2 separate regions of the Homo sapiens genome follow, and region 2 is linked to region 1. The links are contacts of gene promoters, found by promoter capture Hi-C in human tissues and cell types (Jung and others, 2019). All regions are on one chromosome and are shown on one strand. Each heading gives the region's core, a stretch centred on a gene start or on the middle of the fragment in contact. The rest is flanking DNA. Distances are from core to core; before and after follow the strand shown.

The links. The method cuts DNA at HindIII sites, captures the fragments that hold promoters and counts their contacts. A contact is called where the count stands out against the background at its distance.
Region 2: the fragment with the promoter of SYNE4 here is called in contact with the fragment with the promoter of PRODH2 in region 1 in 2 of the 25 tissues and cell types used here (bladder and thymus).

The regions. Positions count from the first base shown.
Region 1 is chr19:35,808,580-35,816,261 of GRCh38, forward strand. It overlaps PRODH2 (proline dehydrogenase 2), which reads right to left and starts at 4,266. Exons shown (of 10, transcript NM_021232.2): 1 at 4,053-4,266; 2 at 3,781-3,977; 3 at 3,555-3,693; 4 at 3,383-3,469. The coding sequence starts at 4,226. The HindIII fragment of the contact is 15,660 bases long and covers 1-7,682 here.
Region 2 is chr19:36,004,299-36,011,980 of GRCh38, forward strand. SYNE4 (spectrin repeat containing nuclear envelope family member 4) reads right to left here and starts at 4,515. Exons shown (of 8, transcript NM_001039876.3): 1 at 4,256-4,515; 2 at 3,919-4,069; 3 at 2,827-2,970; 4 at 2,452-2,646; 5 at 2,125-2,373; 6 at 1,035-1,139. The coding sequence starts at 4,383. It overlaps ALKBH6 (alkB homolog 6), which reads right to left. Exons shown (of 7, transcript NM_032878.5): 4 at 7,106-7,166; 5 at 6,596-6,747; 6 at 6,269-6,385; 7 at 4,822-5,255. The coding sequence ends at 4,992. RefSeq lists enhancers at 3,687-4,228, 4,229-4,768. The HindIII fragment of the contact is 19,934 bases long and covers 3,644-7,682 here.

The DNA of each region.
Region 1 (7,682 bases), core at 3,016-5,515:
ACCCACCAAATATTTAACTCATTTAATATTTACCACTCTCTAATGTACCAACTGTTATTATCCCCCCATTTTCTAGATGGGGAAACTGAGGCACAGAGCAGGGAAGTCACTTGTCAAAAGTCACACAGCTAACTCAGGGCAGACCTGAGGTTTAAACCTCAGCCTTTCCAGAGCCTGGGTCTTTCTCTCTTTTCTCCCTCCCTCCCTCCTTCCCTCCCTTCCTTCCTTCCTTCTTTTTTTTTTTTTTTTGAGATAGATCTCACTCTGTCTCCCAGGCAAGAGTGCAGTGGTGCAAGTTCAAGTGATTCCCCTGCCTCAGCCTCCTGATTAACTGGGGCTACAGGCACGTGCCACCACTTCTGGATAAGTTTTATATTTTTAGTAGAGATGGGGTTTCACCATGTTGCCCAGGCTGGTCTCAAACTCCTGACCTCAAGTGATCCAGCCCCACTTAGCCTCCCAAAGTGCTGGGATTACAGGTGTGAGCTACAGCACCTGGCCCTTTTTTCTTTCTTTCTTTATTTCTTTCTTCCTTCCTTCCTTCCTTCCTTTCCTTCCTTCCTTCCTTCCTCCCTCCCTCTCTTTCTTTCTTCGCTCTCAAACTTGCCAGCTCAAGCAATCCTCCCACCTTAGCCTCCCAAGTAGCCAGGATTACAGGTGCCTGCCACCACACCCAGCTAATTTAAAGGAATTTTTTGTAGAGATGAGGGTTTACTATATTACTCAGGTTGGTATTGACCTCCTGGGCTCAAGCGACCCTCCTGCCTTAGCCTCCACACCAGGTGTGCACCAGCACACAGGCTGATTTTTTAATTTTTTTGTAGAGATGAGATCTCACTATGTTGCCCAGGCAGGTCTCAAACTCCTGGGCTCAAGTGAGCCTCCAATTTCAGCCTCCCAAAATGCAGATTACAGGCATGAGGCACTGCACCCAGCCTGTTTTAATCCTTAAAACCACTGAGAAGTTGCTGTCACTCTCCCTACAGGAATAAACTAAAGCTCATGAAGAGGTGAACTCCTTACTCTCCAAAGCTGATTTTCTGAACCATGAAATCTTGTTTCTATGTGTTCTCTGACACACTTTAAAAATTACAAATAAGGCCAGGTACAGTGGCTCATGCCTGTAATCCCAGCACTTTGGGAGGCCGAGGCACGTGGATCACGAGGTCAGGAGTTAAAGACTAGCCTGGCCAACATAGTGAAACCCCATCTCTACTAAAAATACAAAACTTAGCTGGGTGTGGTGGTGTGCGCCTGTAGCCCCAGCTACTCAGGAGGCTGGGGCAGGAGAATCGTTTGAACCCGGGAGGCGGAGGTTGCAGTGAGCCGAGATCGCACCACTGCACTCCAGCCTGGGCAACAGAGCCAGATGCCGCTTCAAAAAAAAAAAAAAAAAAAAAAAAAAACGCTGGGCGTGGTGGCTCACGCCTGTAATCCCAGCACTTTGGGAGGCTGAGGCGGGCGTTTCACCTGGGGTCAGGAGTTCAAGACCAGCCTGGCCAACATGGTGAAGCCTCATCCCTACTAAAAATACAAAAATTAGCCAGGTGTAATGGCAGGCGCTTGTAATCCCAGCTACTCGGGAGGCTGAAGCAGGAGAACCCGGGAGGCGGAGGTCGCAGTGAGCAGAGATTGCGCCACTGCACTCCAGCCTGGGCAACAGAGCAAGACTCTGTCTTAAAATAATAATAATAATAATAATAATAATAATAAATAAATAGATAAACAAATAAAAATTACAAATAAAAAAAGGTTAGAAAAAGAAACATCAGCATGTCCACTATAGCATTGTTTGGGAGGGTGGAGACACAGAGGCCACCCAGGGGTTCACCCCAGGAGAGGTAAACCATGCAGCAGCTAGAATCAACTATTGGAAACAGTGGGGGCCGGGCATGGTGGCTCAGCCCATAATCCCAACAATTTGGGAGGGTGAGGCAAGAAGAATTTTTTTTTTTTTTTTTGAGACGGAGTCTTACTCTGTCACCAGGCTGGAGTGCAGTGGCACGATCTCGGTTTACTGCAACCTCCGCCTCCCGGTTCAAGCGATTCTCCTGCCTCAGCCTCCCAAGTAACTGGGACTACAGGTGTGTGCCACCACGTCCAGATAATTTTTGTATTTCTAGTAGAGACGGAGTTTTACCATGTTGGCCAGGCTGGTCTTGAACTCCTGACCTCCAGTAATCCATCCGCCTCAGCCTCCCAAAGTGCTGGGATTACAGGCGTGAGCCACTGCCCCCGGCCATGTTCTAAATCTTGATAGGGATTTGGATTGCTCAAGTGTGTGTATTGGTTAAGGTTCATCAAAGGGCACATTTACAATGTGTGTAGTTCATTGTTTTACCTTGAAAGAAAAAAAGTACTGCGAATAATTATTGGGCTCTAATTAATGAGCCCATTATTCATATCCTGAAGCATTTAGGGGGAAAACATGTCTGCAATTTACTTTGAAATGCACCAAAAAATAAGATGGATTGATGGATGGATAGAGGAATAGAGGGATAGATATGATTTAAAGTGAGTATAGTTAAAGGTGGCGGGGGCATGGATGTTCATGTACAATTCTTTTTACTTTTCTGTATATTTGAAAATTTTTATAATAGAATATTGGGGAAAATATGCCCCCCACGAATGGTATACACCTGGCAAAACAAAATCATAGAAACAAAAAGATATGCATTATACAAGACGGCAGGCTGGGTGTGGTGGCTCACACCTATAATCCCAGAACTTTGGGGGGCTGAGGCTGGGGGATTGCTTGAGGCCATGAGTTAGAGACCACCCTGTGCAATACAGTAAGACAAAGAGAAAGAGAGAGAGAGAGAGAGAGGAGGGAGGAGAGAGAAGGAAGGAAGGAAGGAATAAAGGAAGGAAGGAAGGAAGGGAGGGAGGGAGGGAGGGGAGAGAAGGAAAAAGAAAAGAAGGAAGGAAGGAGAGAGAGCAAAAGAGGAAGAGGAAGGAAGGAGAGAGAGAGAAAGAAAGAAAAAAAGATGGAGTAGGGTTGAAAGAGAATGTGGAGATAAAAAGGAATTAATGATTGAATGAACAAACTAAGACCCCATTGGCCTAATCAGAACTTACACCCAGCCAGCTCACACCCATGCAGCTGTGTTGACTGAGAACACACTGATGTACCTCCTTCTAATTGATAAACAGCTTCTATCCCAATCCCTCCTCTGAGAGCCTCCAGCCTCCAGGCTCCTCCCTGAGAACCCAGATGACCCTGATTCCATCCATTTCAACCATGCCTGGGAGCTACAGCTGCACTTCTGCTGGCTGTTCCAAGCCTGGAGGTGGCCGTAGCATTTTGAACATCTGGCGTGCGGTGTGGCCGCATCTAAGTCCAAGGCACTCTGTCCCCGACAGTCCCGCTTGAGATCCTTACCTGCCCAGAGTCCATAGCTTCAGCCAGCCTCTCGGGGCTCAGCTCCAAGGAGGCTCCTGGCCTTCTGACCCACGAGGCTAGCTCCTTCTGAAATGGGGTGGTAGGCGGGGTGGTGAGGGGAGCCCGATGGGCAGCCGCGCCCTCCCCGCACCCCCGTCTTTGCACTCCTTACACAGAGCCGAGTACTGGTCAGCGCCGTCACCTTCAGCTGCATGAGGCTGGCCTCAGCCAGGCTGGGGGGCTCCAGGAGGCCCCGTGACAGGTCCACACACCGCAGCATAGCACCGAGGTTCCCCTCATACCACGCCTCACTGCCCAGCCAGCAGGTGTCAGGGCCCGAACAGCAAAGCCCCTTCCTGCGTCCTCCCAGCCTCCCTGGGCCCTGGCTCCCTACTCACCCACTCTTGGCAGCAGAGTCCGGCTCCTCCTCAGTGGGCACTGCCAGCAGTGGTCGGAGGCTGAGGGTCCGCAGCTGCTGCACGCAGCCCTTCACCTCCTCTGCTGTCTCACCAGCCACAAACTGCCCATAGACGGATGCTCGGAGAAATGCGCCTGAGAGCCGGGAGCCCAGGAGTCGCCGAGACCAGGCCTGGAGCTGGGTGACAGGGAGCGAGGGCTCAGCGCCAGGCTATGAGGAGCCTCCAGGCTGGTCCTCAGGATCACTGCTCACCAACAGCCCGTGAGTGACGAGTGGGGGCCAGGCACACAGCCGGAGAACCAGCAAGGCCCGTGTCAGCTCTCCTGTGCCCTTAAGGTGGAAGGCCCCGCCATCAAAGCTCAGGGACTGCCAGCCCCTGGAGGGGGGACCAGCTTGGGAACAGAGCACGTAACAGGTCCGGAGCATCCTGGGTCCCTGGCTGCCTCCACACCAGGGAAGGTTCTCTGGAGGCAGCAAGTTCACCAACTGCCCCTTGCCCAGACCAGGGGCAGTGACTGATTAACTGGGCAAAGCCTCAGGATCACAGGCTCCTTGGGGGCAATTAATTATTAACAAATGGGGACAGAGTTCAGAGTAACGGAAACGGGAGGTGAACCCCAGTAACAGCCCCCAAGAATGCTCAGCACAACAGCCTGCACTTATTAGGTAACCACCATGTGCTGGGGAAAGCAGGGGCTCCGGAGCAAGGATCCCTGGGCTCAGGACACCGGGCTTTGTGATCCAGGACAGGCTACTTAATCACTTTTGTGGCAATTGCTTCCTCTTAAAATTGGAAACGCTGTAGTGTTATTGAATACATTTGAAAATACGGTTCTCACGTTTGTAATCCCAACACTTTGGGAGGCCAAGACCGAGGAGTTTGAGACTACCCTGGGCGACATAGTGAGACCCCATCTCTACAAAAAATACAAAAATTAACTGTGTGTGGTGGCACACACCTGTGGTCCTAGCTACTCAGGAGGCCGAGGAAGGTGGATCTCTTGAGCCTGGGAGGTCAAGGGTGCAGTGAGCTGTGATTGTGCCACTGCACTCCACCCTGGGTGACAAAGTGAGACTCTGTCGCCAAAAAAAGAAAAAAGAAAAGACAAATAACCTATATAACCCAGCTGTTCCATGCTAAGTACATATCCTAGAGACCTTAAACATGGACAGCAGGAAACATGTACAGGAAAGAATGTTCAGAGGAGCAGTGTCTGAACTACCCAAATGTCCATCAAAAGGAGAATGGATACATATATGGTGGTGTAGTTATGCAATGGAATACTATACAGTAATGAAAAAGAATGGATACTGATACACACAACTGTGTGGCTGAATCTCACAATGTCAAGTGAAAGAAGCCAGACACCAAACAGGGCAAGCTGTATTATTCTTTTTTTTTTTTTTTTTTTTTTTTTTTTGAGACACAGTTTCACTCTTGTTGCCCAGGCTAGAGTGCAATGGCACAATCTCAGCTCACTGCAACCTTCACCCCCCGGGTTCAAGCGATTCTCTTGCCTCAGCTTCCAGAGTAGCTGGGATTACAGGCATGTGCCACCACGCCCCACTAATTTTGTATTTTTAGTAGAGACAGGGTTTCTCCATGTTGGTCAGACTGGTCTTGAACTCCCGACCTCAGGTGATCTGCCCGCCTCAGCCTTCCAAAGTGCTGGGATTACAGGCATGAGCCACTGTGGCTGGTCTATACTTTTCAATAAATATAAAAGCAAGGAAAGTGAAACTGCAGTAAAATGTTGGGAATACATGCGTGGGTGGTCAAACTATGAGGACAAGAAAAGTAAGGACATGATTATCACAGAAGTCAGAGAGGTGGTTGATTGTGGGGGATGGGAGGAATTGTAATGGGGTAGAGGGATATGGGGACTTCTATATCCTATTTTCTTTTTTTAAAATGGAAACCATATGTCTTAATTTTTTTGTTTTGTTTTGTTAGACGTATCCTTGCTCTGTCACCCAGGCTGGAGTGCAGTGGTGCGATCTCGGCTCACTGCAACCCCCATCTCCCGGGTTCAAGTGATTCTTCTGCTTTAGCCCCCTGAGTAGCTGGGACTACAGGCACCCACCACCACACCTGGCTAATTTTTGTATTTTTGTAGATATGGGGTTTCACCATGTTGGCCAGGCTGGTCTTGAGCTCCTGACCTCAAGTGATCCACCCTACTTGTCCTCCCAACATGCTGGGATTACAGGCGTGAAGTCCTAGGTCTTTTTTTTTTTTTTTTTTTTTTTTTGAGACAGAGTCTTACTCTGTTGCCCAGGCTGGAGTGCAGTGGCACGATCTCGGCTCACTACAGCCTCTGCCCCCGGGTTCAAGCAATTATCCTGCCTCAGCCTCCCGAGTAGCTAGGATTACAGGCGTCTGCCACCGCGCCTGGCTAACTTTTGTGTTTTTAGTAGAGTCACGGTTTCACCATCTTGGCCAGGCTGGTCTTGAACTCCTGACCTCATGATCCACCTGCCTTGGCCTCCCAAAGTGCTGGGATTACAGGTGTGAGCCACTGTGCCTGGCAGTGGCTTCTAGGTCCTAGGAGTCCTAGGTCTTAACATGGATGATGATTCATAGTTGTTCACATTGTAAGGTTTTTTTTGTTTTGTTTTTGAGACAGAGTCTTGCTCTGTCTTCCAGGCTGGAGTGCAGTGGGGTGATCACTGCTCACTGCAGCCTCAAACTTCTGGGCTCAAGCAATCCCCCCACCCACCACCTCCACCTCCCAAGTAGCTGGGATTACAGGTGCATGTGATCACACCGAGGGTAATTTTTAATTGTTTTTTTGGTAGAGACAGAGTCTTACTATGCTGCCTAGGCTGGTCTTGAACCCCTGGACTCAAGCAGTCCTCTCACCTTGGGCCTCCCAAAGTGTTGGGATTTCAGGCATGAGCCACGGCACCTGGCCCTCACATTGTAAGTTTTTTTTTTTTGAGACGGAGTCTTGCTCTGTCCCCCAGGCTGGAGTGCAGTGGCGCAATCTTGGCTCACTGCAAGCTCCGCCTCCTGAGTTCATGCCATTCTCCTGCCTCAGCCTCCCGAGTAGCTGGGACTACAGGCACCCACCACCACGCCCGGCTAATTTTTTGTATTTTTAGTAGAGACGGGGTTTTACCATGTTAGCCAGGATGGTCTCAATCTCCTGACCTCGTGATCCACCCGCCTCGGCTTCCCAAACTGCTGGGATTACAGGCGTGAGCCACACTGCGCCCGGCCTTGAAATTTTTATTTATTTTCTTATTTATGTATGTATGTATGTATGTATGTGTGTATTTATTTATTTATTCATTTTTGAGACAGGGTCTCACTCTGTTGCCCAGGCTGGAGTGCAGTGGCACAATTTCGGCTCACTGCAGCCTCAACCTCCCAGGCTCAGGTGATCCTCCCACCTCTGCCTCCCAAGTAGCTGGGACTATAGGCACATGCCACTATGCCCAGCTAAATTTAAAAAAATTTTTTTTTCCTTTCTTTTTTGTGATGGGGGATCTCACTCTGTCACCCAGGCTGGAATGCTCCAGCATGATCATGGCTCACTACAGCCTCAAACTCCTAGGCTCAAACAATCCTCCTACCTTGGCCTCCCAAACGCTAAGCTTATAGGCATGAGCCTCTGTACTTGGCCTGCCTTTTTTTTCTTTTCTTTTTTTTTTTGGCTCCATCTTGCTCTGTTGCCTAGGCTGCAGATGTCTGCTCACTGCAACCTCCGCCTCCCAGGTTCAAGTGATTCTCCTGCCTCAGCCTCCCAAGTAGCTGGGATTACAGGTGTCTGCTACCATGCCCGGCTAATTTTTGTACTTTTAGGAGAGGCGGGGTTTCACCATATTAACCAGGCTGGTCTTGAACTCCTGGCCTCAGATGATCCGCCTACCTTGGCC
Region 2 (7,682 bases), core at 3,265-5,764, 200 kb after region 1:
AGGCGTGAACCACGGTGCCCAGCCACAAGTGACACTTTGTGTCACCTTTACCCTACTACGATAGACCTACAAAGCTGGTCTTATTTCTTCTCCTTTCCTGGCACCTCCTTATCCCCAGGACCCCACACAGACTTGGAATATCTCCAAGTGTAGTGGATGTCTGGTTGTGTCTGTCCTTTATCCAATACAATCCCCCTTTTTCTGATAACAGTGCCTTAATTGGAGGTGGGCGGCTGTCATGCCTTCCACTCCCAGACCTTCAGGTTCAAGTGAAGCTGACAGCCACCTCCCCAACTTCCATGATTGGTGTGACCCAGACCTGGCCAATCTGAGCACTCTGGTTTATTCAAGGTGCAGCCCATGACCCCATCCGGTAAGTGGGAGTCAGCCCTGGGACTTTGGCAGCTGTCAGTAGGGTCGGAGGCATGCTCCTTCCCCTGGGGTGGGTAAACCAGTGGGAGTGGCAGTGTAGCCACTGGAGCACCCATTTTGCTAAGAAGGAAGCCACCTTGGGGACTTAGAGCCCAAGAAAGGGAGGGACTGAGCCCTGATGTTATTTCTTTCTTTCTTTTTTTTTTTTTTTTTTTTTTTTTTGTTGAGATGGGGTCTCACTATGTTGCTCAGACTGGAGTGCAGTGGTGGGATCTCGGCTCACCGCAACCTCCGCCTCCCGGGCTCAAGCGATTCTCCTCCTGAGTAGCTGGGATTACAGGCATGCGCCACCACACCTGGCTAATTTTTGTAGTTTTAGTAGAGACGGGGTTTCACCATTTTGGCCAGGCTGGTCTCGTACTCCTGACCTCAGGTAATCCACCCACCTCAGCCTCCCAAAGTGCTGGGATTACAGGCGTGAGCCACTGCGCCTGGCCTGGCCCTGGTATTACTTCAGGCTCTGAATTCAACAGTGCCTGGACCTTTCCATTACTTTTTTTTTTTTTAATAGCATTCCCTTTCTTGTGCCTTTTGATTTCTTGGGTTTCTGTCACTTGCCATCAAGATTCCTGAGTGCTACACCTGGTTGAGAACTGGCTCACCTGAGGCTTCCGGAGCAGGGAGTGTCTTTGGTGACGTGCTAAGCGTTTCTGGTGGCCGAGGCCAGACTCCAGCATGTCCTGTCGGGAGTGAGAGGTGTCTGCTTCCTGGAGAACCAGCAACAAAGAAAAACGTGGTTGGGGGAGGGCCAGGATAGGGATGTCATAGAGATGAGATTCTGGGGGAGCAGAGAGATCTCACAGGACAGACAAAGGCAGAGCCAAAGAAACCAAGAGAGGAGAGAATTATTTATTCATTCATTCAATAAATGTGTAATGAGTTTCTGTTACAAGCCAGGAACTGTTCTAGGAGCTGAGGACACAGTGGGGATGGAAATAGGCAAATTCCTGGCCTCCGTGGAGCTTATATTTGACAGGAGAGAGACCATAAATTAATAAGTAAATGAGGCCTGGTACAGTGGCTTATGCCTGTAATCCCAGCACTTTGGGAGGCCAAGGCAGGCGGATCACCTGAGGTCAGGCGTTCGAGACTAGCCTGGCCAACATGATGAAACCCCATCTCTACTAAAAATACAAAAATTAGCCAGGAATGGTGGTGCACACCTGTAATCCCAGCTACTCGGGAGGCCGAGGTAGGAGAATCTCTTGAACCTGGGAGGCAGAGTTTGCAGTGAGCCAGGATTGCACCACTACACTCCAGCCTGGGTGACAGAGTGAGACTCCATCTCAAAAAATAAATAAAAATTTTTAAAAATAAGTAAATGTACAAAGTCAAGCTGTGGTGAGTGCTGTTAGGAAATAAAGTAAGAAGATAGGAGTGCTCATGTTTGGAGGTCACGACAGGCCTCCCTGAAGAGGTGGCACTTCAGGAGAGACTGGGACAGTCAGGAGGTGAGTGGGGCATCATCTGGGGGCCTCAGGATAGGAGTGAATTTGAGATGGGGCTTGAGGATGTAGACAGAGACAGACGAGAGAGAGAAACAGTGAGATAGAAGGAGACACCGAGAGACAGAGATAGAGGGGGAGACAGAGCCACTGACACCTCCTTGGAAGGGCAGGATCTTGCTAGAAGGTGCGCAGAGATGTCCCCAGGGTGCCTGGCAGAAGGTCCCTCAAGGGGGTCTGCTCTCACCTCAAGGCCTTGTCCCCTGCCCTGGGGCCCCCTCTGGCCACACAGCTCACAGGGCACTCCTAGTGTCCGGGCTGTCTTTTGTCCCAAGGGCCCAAGGCCCCCAATGTCCCCCGCCGGATCCCACTCCAACTCTGTGGAAGTGGGGAGGCTACTGGGTGCCCAGGGCCCCCAGACCCCACCAGGTCCTGGCCAGTCCGAGTCTCCCTCGACCTCCAAGTCCTGGTCCAGCGTGTTGGCCTCCTCGAACACCTGGGTCAAAGGACAGAGGTCATGGAGGCTATGAGGTTGGGGCCTGGGTTGGGTGGGGGGTATCAAGATGGGCCCTACCAGGCTGTAGCTGACCAGCTGGGCCTGCAGCTGCCAGAGCCGCCGGAAGATGGAGTCTCGGTAAGCTCCCAGGGCCCGCAGGATCTGCTCCAGGGCTGCCCAGGCCCTGGGCTCACTCCGCTGTGCCAGCCCCTCACCAAACGCTAGCAGCGCCTCCACACGCTCAGCTGCCCCTCGTAGGTCCACCTGGAGGGCCTGGGGACATATGGACATCACCCCACGCACACACCAGGGACCCAAAACCTGGAGTTACCCCCCTCCCCCATTTCCTATCCAAAGGCCTGGAACATGCACTCAACCCATTTCCCATCCCGGAAAGCTGGCACCCACTGCTGGGGCCGTGCCCACCCCCACATCCTGGCCTCTCCTGCCTACCTGCAGCTGCACCATCCCACTCTGGGCCAATGCCCAGTGCCCCAGGCCTTGCTCCAGGTCCTGCAGCCGGCGGCCCAGCCCCAGCAGGCACAGGTGCAGGCTGTTCTGCTCAGCCTCTAGTACCTCCAGGCCAGAAATGGGGTGCTGGGGAACACAGGAGCCAGGTCAGGGCCAGTGGGCCAATCAAGATATCACCCCTGCTCCCATCCCCACCCCTCTTCTGTAAGCTTCTGGAAACTTCTCTGTGGCACAGTCCATCTCCGGGTCTGTCTGCACCAGGATGGCTCCCACTGGGGGGGCCTTCCCAGTGGAGCCAGGCCTGAGGACAGATATCTAGTTCAAGGTCTCCAGGTTTTCAAAGCTCCTGGAAACTTGGATGTGTGAGGCCTGGGGGGTCTGGACAGGGAGCGGGGCTGGGTACCCCCCAAGAAGAATGGGGCTACACCAGGAGCAATGATGAAATGCTTCTCAGCCGGGCGCAGTGGTTCACATCTGTAATCCCAGCACTTTGGGAGGCCGAGGCCCGAGGATCACTTGAGCCCAGGAGTTCAAGACCAGCCTGGGCAACATGGTGAGACATCATCTCTACTTTTTTTTTTTTAATAAAAAAGAAATATGGCTGGACACGGTGACGCACGCCTGTAATCCCAGCACTTCGGGAGGCTGAGGTGGGTGGATCACCTGAGGTCGGGAGTTCGAGACTAGCCTGGCCAACAAGTCGAAAACCCATCTCTACTAAAAATACAAAAAATTAGCCAGGTATGGTGGCATGTGCCTGTAATCCCAGCTACTCGGGTGGCTGAGGCAGGAGAATCACTGGGACCTGGGAGGCGGAGGTTGCAGTGAGCAGAGATCTCACCACTGCATTCCAGCCTAGGTGACAGAGAGACTCCATCTCAAAAAAAAAAAGAAAGAAAGAAATACGTCTCCCCAGTTGGTCAGATATTGAAACACTTTTCCAGAAGGTCCCTCCCCCTACAGACACCCAACACCTTTCCAGAATCATCACCCGGTCCTCAGTATGGAGGCCAGACTCCAGGGGACAGAGAGGAGGTGGGGCTGGCACAAGGGGTCTGGGTCACCTCAGCTCACCTCACAGTGTTTGCCCCCAGCTGGGTCCTCGTAGGAAGAGGGTGTTGACCATCTCGGGGGGTGAGCGGCAGGCTCATTGCCCCTTGGCCCACCCTGGAAGTGCTCAGGAGGGCCCAAGGAGTCCTGTCCCAGGGTCTGGGCCTGCTCTGGGCTAGGAGGCAGGGGGCGGTGACTGGGTGAGTCTCGACACCTCACTTTTCAGCCTACCGTCACCCCAACCCTGGTGGCCTCTCCTATGTCCCCAGGCGATCACAGCCATGGCACCTCCTACCCTCACATGGCCCCTGCCACCACGCCTACCCTTTTGGGAACAAGCTTCCAAAGCCCCGGCCCCCACCTCGTGCTCTCCTCTCCGGACGCGGGGCAGACGGTGCATCCAACAATGTCCGCCTCTCTAGGTGCTCCCGGTGGGTGGTTGAGGGGCTCTGAGCCAAGTCTAGGGCCCAGAGGCAGGGACAGGGCCATGGCTGGGGGCCTGGGGACACAAAGTCAGGTGAGGGCAGCCAGTAAGACCTCTTCCCTAGACAAGGGTGTCCCAGAGCTCCTCCGCTGGAGTCACCCGGGCCTGAGGCTGCAGGAGAGGCCCAGGACAGGTCTGGCTCCGCCCCTTCCAAGAGGAACCTGGACCCGGCCATTTGATGCCCAGCTCAGGTGACAGAAGAGTCACTTAACTCCTTCCTCCCTAGCAGGCCAGTAGCTAAATCTCCCAGCATCACTCCACGCCATCCAAGAGGGTTCCAGATAGAACCCCTGCGCCACCTCCTCAAGAGCCCTGGATTCTGCCCCACTGGGAACCCAGAAATCGGACCTCCAGGGCCTACCCCATTCATTTAAGACCCTAGATGCCGCTCCCCTCAGGAAACCAAGCATCTGGCCCCTAAAAAATAAAAATATAAAACCAAGGAAAGATTTTTTTGTTTATTTGGTATGGGGTCTTCTGTAGCTCACACAAAATTATTGGGAAAATAAATAACCCAGGGGAGCCCCCTTTGCCCACGGTTCCTAGGTCGCGGAGTCACAGCAGCCCCAAAGGGGCAGGAACCTGGGAATCCGAGGGGTCCCGGCCCTGGCGGTCACTTGCCCAGCAGGAGGCCGGCGCGCAGCACGCGGGGCACGCGGCGGATGGTCAGCGAGACCCGGGTGCCGCGCACCAGGCAGGCTCCCGGCCGCGCCGACGGGCAGGCTGCCGCATTGGGCGGCGAGGAGGCGGCGTCCAGCGCGTCTACGCGGGCGGCGGCGATGCCGTGGAGAAGACGCGTGTAGGCGGGGCCGCGGAGCACCAGCAGGCTGCGCGGTTCCAGCAGTAGCGAGGTGGTGGGCCGGGGCGGAGGCCGAGGCTGCAGGGCGGGTTGAGGGTCAGCAGGGCTCAAGAAGTCGGGGGGTGGGGGTGGGCGAGAGGTCGGTAGCCTCCGGGGATCAGCTAGTCCCCAGGGGCAAAAGCTGAAGAGCAAGTGTGCTCACAATGATGGAGGCTTTGGTGGTTCAGGAGTGAAAATTGCTGGGGCCTGGGCTGGGGCTGCTGGAAAGGGAGGGCGAGGGCTCTGCCGTCCCTCGGGAGGGGGCAGGATCTAGGTGGCAGATGGGGGCGTCAAAGGGTCAGCGGCCGGTGGGAGCTGCAGCTGGGATCTCAAAGGGGCTGAGGCTGGGGCTGGGACCCAGGAATAGGCAGTCCCCAGGAAATACAGGCAGAGCTGGGCTGAGAGAGCATGGCTGAAGCCAGGACCAGGTGAGGAGAGAGTGAGGCAGAGGTTAGAGGCAGTGGGGGTTCCCAAGGACATCAGGACATTAGAGGACAACCGCACAGCTGAGGGAGTGTCAGAGCATCCAGGAGCATGCAGGGCTCGAGGGCAAGCCTCAAGGAGTGGGTCGGCGTGTTCAGGGGCGTTTCTGTGAACACTGGGGTGCTAGAAATGCATCACTCAGAGAAATTGTGTCAAGGGGTCAAGGAGAATCTGGGGGTGTCCTGCACCCCAAATCACATTCCTGGAGTAGCAGGACGTCTGGGGCACCCTGAGCAGGGGCAGATAGAGCATCTGGGAGGAGGTGAGGCCCCCCGAGTTAATGGCGGTGGGGTATCTAAGGATATCAGTGTCTGCTGGGGAGTCAGGGGTATCCATTCAGCAGGTTGGGGCATCGGGGAGCCTGTGAAAATCATGGCATGTGGGACAGACACCCTGTAAGCAGATGGGTTGGGTGTCTGGGAGGAAGTGGGTACACCCCATGAGGGGACAAGGGAAGGTATCTGGGAGAGTGCCAGGAGTACCCCGAAGGCATGTGGGACCAGGTCATCTTGGAGGATGTGCGAGGTTGAAGTGCCTACAAGCAGCTGGGGCAGTGTCTGGGGGCCCACCTGTTCTGTAGGGTCATCGTCCTCTGGCCGCCGCGGCTCGTAGAAGTCCAGCACGGTGTGGGAGCCCAGGCTGATGGTGCTGACAGTCGGGTAGTACAGTGGTCCGTCCTCGTGGGGCTAGGGAGTGGGCACCAGGGCTGGGCAGGGCAGGAGTCCACAACCCCCACCCTCTGGGTCAAAGGGGGGCTTCCCAAGCCAGGGACAGGGAGGTGAATGCCTGTTTGGGAGATGTGGCTGCCTAATGAGTGAGGGTGGGTACAGAGTCCCCTGCCCCAGCACAGCTCAGAAGTCTGAGTGGGGGGACACGGGCCGAGGGTGTGTGGTTACCATGATGCCCTCCCCAGGCAGATACTGGTTCACGAGGACATGGTTAGCTGGGAGGCCTCCAAAGAGGCTGAGGTTTGACACTTTGTCCACGTAGCGCTGGAGCCATGGGGGCAGCCGCTCAGGAACCATCCCTCGGGGATGAGGAAGCCCACCTGGGGAAGGCAATGGGGTCCTGAGGGCCCCCCTATAGCAATAGATCCCCCATTAGGGATTCCACAGTGGCTGGAAGCACCCTGATCCTCTCAGGGACCCCTGACCGTTTGGAGATAGCCACTGGGTCCTTCAGAGGTTTCCTCACTTCTCCAGACCACAGGTCCCTTTCAGATACTCCCAACTCATCAGGAAATCCCTAATCCCTCAGGACCTCCACTGACCCCTTCAGAATCCTCCTGGCTCTTGGGGCCCCTTGAGCTGTCAGGGACCCTCTGATGTCTTAAGTCTATTGGACCTGAGTCCCCTGCCCCAGCCTACATCCCAGAATCACTCCTGCCCCCAGCCAGGGATACTTACCCCAGTTCTGTAACTTTCTCCCAGAGAGCTGGGTCCACTTTGGCTTTGGGGCATTAAAAACCTAAGAGGTGGGAAGGGGGTCACTCCTTTCTCAGGATCACCCCTCTATGATCCTCCCACCTAGACCAACATAGGGGCCTTTACCTCCGGGATGGAAATGGGTCATCTGTGTCTGTGGGACCATTCCCTGGGGCGGTGGGTTCCTAGGATTTTGTGGTTTGCCTTTTTTCCTGGGAACGCCTTTGGCCCCAAAGCCCACCTGTGTCTACCAGGATTTAGGAATCAGGGCTGCACAACCGTGGTCTGAGAGTTGTGGGTCTCACAATCTACTCAGAGTTCTGGGGCTGGACAGGGCTCTTTCAGCCCAGCAAATAGTCTGCATTCTAATTTCCTGATTCCGTGCCAAACCTGGTTGCTCATGCCTGTAATCCCAGCACTTTGGGAGGCCGAGGCGGGCAGATCACTTGAGGTCAGGAGCTCGAGACCAGCCTGGCCAACATGGGGAAACCCCGTCTCTACTAAAAATACAAAACTTAGCTGGGCATGGTGGCATGCACCTGTAATCCCAGCTACTTGG